Linked DNA regions of Homo sapiens: region 2 is linked to region 1. The links are contacts of gene promoters, found by promoter capture Hi-C in blood cells and fetal thymus (Javierre and others, 2016). All regions are on one chromosome and are shown on one strand. Each heading gives the region's core, a stretch centred on a gene start or on the middle of the fragment in contact. The rest is flanking DNA. Distances are from core to core; before and after follow the strand shown. Region 1 holds the start of DARS1-AS1 (DARS1 antisense RNA 1). Region 2 holds the start of CCNT2-AS1 (CCNT2 antisense RNA 1).

Region 1 (2,819 bases), core at 136-2,635:
TTTGTAAATAATCTTTGATCAATTAAATAGGGAATAAAATTTCATACCACCTGCAATTAGAAGGAAAGCTACAGGCAAGCAAGGACCATGGCTGTCTTCTCACTACTCCATGGGGGAGCCTCCAGAGAGAGCCTTTCACTTGCGCTGGGATCTATGTGCACCCCTTAACACTTTGTGCCAGACTAAGACACTACCAAGTCAGTTGAAACGACGGAGTGCAAACTCTGGCAGGGGAAACAGTATTAAACCAAATCTCCAAATTATTTTCAATTTCGATTCAAAACTCATGAATGATAGCTTTTTTAAAAAATCAGTTTTTTAAAAAAGCCTAACTTGGGGATATTCGCCCATTGGGCAACCAACACTATGCACTGTCCCTAACACTGCAACAGATCCAGGCAATCAATGCAATTGTATGCGTTTCTTGTTGTCGTTGCCACTGTATTTACACCTCACTTACACAGGGACTGGTAACCCATGCTGCCTTGGCAAGCCAACTGCACTCCTCTGTCCCAACAAGCAGGGCAATGGATTGCGAAGAGGCCTCCTCCGTCCCCAAGCAGCTACGTCGCCCAGGGGAAGAGAGAAGGCGGGAAAGTCCAAGAGAGGAGAAACCAAGGCCCGCGCTTAGGTGGGTGTTTTAGTGACGAGTCTGCGGTTACAGCCGAGCGGAGTTGAAAGGGCTGTTAGAAGAATGGAGCAGAAGTCGCAGTTGGGACGAAGCTGAAGAGAGCTGGCATTCGCCCAGGTCTACAGCCAGCCACCTGGTAACCCCTGCCCCCGCCCCCAGAGCCAATCCAGCGAAACTACCGCGAATTCCCGGGAATTCCCTCCAACTCCGGGAAAACTCCCGGAGGGGCGGGGCAAGAGTGGGAGGAGACCCTGCGCGCGGCCGCCAGCGCTCCGGGATCTCGAGATAGCCGCAGCTCTCGCGATCTTTCTGGAGCCGCACCTCCACGCGGAGTCCGAGCGCGTGTGCTGAGACCCCAGGGTCGGGAGGGCGGAGACTGGGAGGGAGGGAGAAGCCCCTTTGGCCTGCCTTACGGAAGCCTGCGAGGGAGGGTGGTGTCCACTGCCCAGTTCCGTGTCCCGATGCCCAGCGCCAGCGCCAGCCGCAAGAGTCAGGAGAAGCCGCGGGAGATCATGGACGCGGCGGAAGTGGGTTTCCTCCTTTCCTGGGCCTGGGAGGACAGACCCCTGGGCCGGGCTGCGCCGAGGGAGGGAGGAGGGGGAGTGGGGCCCTACAGGTCCTTGTCGGCACGTTCTCCGCAGGCTGCGGGCGTGGGGTCCGGGCGCCTAGAGCCCTTGCCCCAGCAGTGGGGCCAGACCCTCTCCGGACCGCGTTTCTTGCGGGGGTCACCTGGGAGTTTGGCCTACTAGAAGCGTGTCCCCGGGGTGGGGAGGACGGGAAGAACCAGCCGCCCCGGAAGTAGGAGCGCGGCGTCACACTTGAGTCTCTCTGGGTTAGGCACGTCCTGCACGTAATGCACAATCCCTGGGAAAATTTTAATAAGCACTAGTAATCGATATGTACTCAGCCCTCGTGTTCCTAATGCTTTAGCAAGTAATGACAGTACTTAGCAAAACCATCTGCCAATATGTTTAATGACCATTTCCCATGTGACAGCTTTAAAGAACACATGTCATTTTTATTTACTTTCTCCCTCTCAGTGACCCGGTAAGGTAGGTAATAGGAGTTACCGAGAATGCATTTGAGGTGAAGTGACCCCAAATCACGTGGATAATTCATAACACCCAGTGATCCTTCGGTGCTTTTCAGAAATCAAAGTTTGAAACCATCCTACAAGTTATGTGTGCTGTAGTACTGTTAAGCCTTAATTTCCGTCTGGCTCCCTAATTTTTCTATAAGGAGTTCTGAGTTTGTGGTAAGCAACATGAGAAGTAAGGTCATCTTAGAATACTAAATGAGGAAGAGTCACTGAAATATTAATAGTACTAATTATGAATGCAACTTTTTTGTCCTTCACACAATTTAATCTCCTTCTGTTGCCCTCAGGCTTCATTGTGTGACTGTATCTCTCTACTCTGGCCAGGGTTATCTTTTTCTTTAAATTGTTCAGTAAGCGCCTTAAACATGTCTGGTTTTATTTTGGTGTAAACACAAAATCCAGCACCCTCCTGCTCTAAAGGAGAGGATTCCAACAGGTAGCTGTAAAGTGACAGAAACTTAATTGTTTCATACAGATCTTAAGTTACCTTGTAAAAACTAGGGCAATTATTTTTGTGTACTCTTAATCTGCTTAATTACATAAACTATCAGTGTACCCTTACAGATAGTATAGGTCTAGATACAAGGTAGACATTGTGGCAGAGTTATGCCATTTTATAGCTAGAAGAATCTTAGATCATTTTAGAGGTAAAGTAAGATTGAAATAAAGGCCACTTATCTATTTAATAAGTATATTTTGTTAACAGATTGGACCCTAGGTCTTCTGTTTCCTGTTCCTAACTCTAATCTGTAACAAGAAATTTGATATTATTATATTGTCAGTGTCAAACTCCTGTAACCTGGTATCCTGAATCTGGTTTTTAGAAACAGGAAGCTGGTGAATTTTTTGATGATGTTTTACAAAAGGAAAGTTGTAGTTAGCTTATACCCAGCATCTCCAGTTTCTAAAAACTGTGGACATCTGGTGCTCAGAAAGCTTACCCAAAACGTTGGTTCTCTTTGAACATTTCTTCCTGTAATAGGAAGTTAATAAAACTGTGGTACTTCATCCTACTCCCTTCACAGAGGAAATTTATGTCCCTGCTTTGAAGTAGTTTCATCTTTTTGAAGAAGGTAGTTAAGATGTGTT
Region 2 (2,819 bases), core at 194-2,693, 1.1 Mb after region 1:
ACAAAAACACCGCATCTGAAGCAAAATATTTATCACGTGATATACGTTTACCGTTAATTCAGAACACTAAATCCAACAACGCAATGACCAACTTTTTTTCTGCGTATCGATTTACCCTCAAATTTGCGGACAGTAAAAACAGACAACTAGTACTTACATTTTTGTTGAATTTGGTGAAAGAATGGTGCATATAAAACCTGTGCATATAAACAATCGCAGTGTTTATTGTAAGCTGAGAGCTGGAACGTAATATTTAGGAAATATCTGACAAAAGCAAGATCTCATTCCCAGAACAATTTTGATGGAAAATTCCCAGGTTCTTTTCCAATACCTCCCATTCAAATCCAAACCCCAAACTGGAAATAAAGAAATAAATGCCCGCGGGGGGTGGGGCGGCAGGAAGAGAATAGGCTTGACGCCAAATAAATGGGAATAAGAACTGCTGATCTTTTCACTCTAACAGCGCTGAGGGCCCTGGAACTATTTATCAATGGCTACGACTAACTAAACTCAAAATGAAACAGTTGAAACGCGCGCGCACACACCCATACAAAACCACGCCAAGAACATAAAGAACTCCAGTACGCTCCCAAGGTAGAAGAGAGCCGCCATCAAGCCGGCGACGAGAGCCGGGAAAGGCTGCGGCAAACACTTAGGCCTTTCAGCATCGCTAACCCTCCTACCTCTCAAACCCTTCGGGGTCAGGGACAAGTCCAGGGAGCCGCCCCTTTTCTGCAATAATCCCTAAAATTCCTCTTTCGCCTGAGCCACACTCCCAACCCCCGCCGCCACCACCACGCGCTGCCCCAAACAGATTACACAACGCAGGCTCCTGGCCCGCATTCCTGGGGTCCTATCTCCTCCTCCCTTCCTCTGCTGACCCCTCGCGACTGCCCGAGCCGGAACATTACTTCCCTGACCGCGGCGCCGAGGCCCAGCGAAGGCCGAGGCCGGCGGCGCCATGTTCGCGGGGCACCAGGCCCGGCGACCGGGCAAGGGAAACAGGGCGTGAGCGGCGGCGAACAGAAAAGGATACACATTGAGACGCTGTCCCATCTCCTGGATGAGGTTGGCCGCCTGCTGGCGGCACGAGAGCTCTTTATCCGCCTCCACTCCGCAGCGGCGGCTCGGCGTGTTCTCCAGCTGTTCCCGAGTAAAGAACCAGCGAGAAGAAGCTCCACGGCCCGACGCCATGACACTTCCTCCTCCGCCCGCTCCTTCATTCACCCCCCGCCCCTCCTGGCTCGCGGACTCCCCGCCAAGGCGCGCGACCCCGCCCCACTCCGCTCGCCGTAGACCACGCACCACCCTTTTTCACCACCGCCTCCGCCCTTGCGCATGCGCGGGGCCCGCTCTACCGACTCGCCCTAGTCTTTTGCTTTCTTTTTCTGCCCTCGGCCTCGCTCTTGCGCACGGGACCACAATGCTCCGCGCCGCTTGTCATTGGGAGGCGCCGAAGGTGGAGAGGTCGGCTCGGAAGGAAAAGGTCGGCGCAGCGCATGCCGGGTCTAGGGTTGGCGGGGCGAAGGGGTGGGGAGGGAAGGGGCGGGGAGGGGAGGGGAGGGGAAAGTGGGAGAGGGTGGACTCTGGCCGGTGTGAAGAGAGGCGGTCGGGCGGCTGCGCTGTGGGGGCCTGGGCGTGTACTTCGGAGGCCCGTCGGGCGCTTCCTTTAGACGGGAGGTCTAGCGGCCCTTTAAAAAGAGAAAAATAACCTTCACTGTCGCAGCCTCACGCCACTACTTCCATTTTCCTTTTGGGCGGGTCCGCGCAGTCTCGTAGGCGTGCGACTCCGGCCTCCGCCACCAACAGTCTCCGCCTAGCGCGCGGCTCTGGCGTTGAGCTGGCGGGGAAAGAGTGCACAGGAAGTCACGCTCCATGGCTGTCCGCACCTGAGTGCTTTTTTCACCCTACATTATCTTGTTTAAATCCCAGACCACTTGGTTTATTTTTATTTTTTCAAATTACTTGGCAAACGCTATCCAACTAGCAACGAGAAATTGAATTTCTAAATGAGGTGTTGAATCTAGACGGGGCGTGTTTTCAGGCTGCGCTGTGGTTTCTGCGAGACAAGGTTGGGGAGAATCAGATAGTGCAGGAGGAACTGAGTTAAAATTTTATCTTTAGGATTTGATGTGGGAACATCCCACATACCTGTTGATTAACTCCTGTATTTCTTCCTGTAAGAAAATGCCACTGAGCTTCACTCGGAGTTTGTGTTGTGAATAGGGTTTCTAAGTTTAAAGTCTTAACTATTTGGAGGCCGGGCACGGTGGCTCACGCCTGTAATCTCAGCACTTGGGGAGGTCCAGTGGGCCGATCACTTGAGGTCAGGAGTTCGAGGGCAAGGGCAACATGGCGATACCCCGTCTCTACCAAAAATACAAAAATTAGCCAGGTTTGGTGGCGCGCCTGTAGTCCCAGCTACTCCCGAGGCTGAAGTGGGAGGATGGCTTGAGCCCAGGAGGTGGAGGCTGCGGTGAGCTAGATCTCGCTGCTGCACCCCAGCTTGGGCGATAGTGCAAGACCTTGTCTCGAAAATAAAAAATAAAGTAATATCTATTTGCCAAAGACCATGGAGGCAAGTGATTGTTATGGGGCTCCCACGCTCAGCATACTGCATTGCACAAGAATATTGATTATAGTAGGCAGTTTTTGTAACAGTTGCTATTTCATACTCACTTCCCTTGCTTTACGTTTTATGTTGCTTACAATTTCTGGAATAGATTGATTTAAAGCAACATTTTAAAAGTGCAAACCCTTGGCCAGGTGCAGTGTTTCCCGGCTGTAATCCCAGCACTTTGGGAGGCCAAAGTGTTCTA

What was found. The method cuts DNA at HindIII sites, captures the fragments that hold promoters and counts their contacts. A CHiCAGO score of 5 or more calls a contact.
Region 2: a contact is called between the fragment with the promoter of CCNT2-AS1 here and the fragment with the promoter of DARS1-AS1 in region 1, in 3 of 17 cell types (total B cells, M2 macrophages and fetal thymus). The highest score is 5.4, in total B cells.

Annotation. Positions count from the first base shown.
Region 1 is chr2:135,983,742-135,986,560 of GRCh38, reverse strand. DARS1-AS1 (DARS1 antisense RNA 1) reads right to left here and starts at 1,385. Exons shown (of 4, transcript NR_110199.1): 1 at 1,045-1,385. It overlaps DARS1 (aspartyl-tRNA synthetase 1), which reads left to right and starts at 935. Exons shown (of 16, transcript NM_001349.4): 1 at 935-1,158. The coding sequence starts at 1,093. RefSeq lists an enhancer at 1,089-1,188 and a silencer at 1,239-1,298. The HindIII fragment of the contact is 7,953 bases long and covers 1-2,668 here.
Region 2 is chr2:134,917,230-134,920,048 of GRCh38, reverse strand. CCNT2-AS1 (CCNT2 antisense RNA 1) reads left to right here and starts at 1,443. Exons shown (of 5, transcript NR_036549.1): 1 at 1,443-1,486. It overlaps CCNT2 (cyclin T2), which reads right to left and starts at 1,227. Exons shown (of 9, transcript NM_058241.3): 1 at 1,037-1,227; 2 at 158-239. The coding sequence starts at 1,194. RefSeq lists enhancers at 628-717, 928-1,197, 1,348-1,507, 1,585-2,258, 2,268-2,317 and a silencer at 1,518-1,587. The HindIII fragment of the contact is 7,926 bases long and covers 1-2,819 here.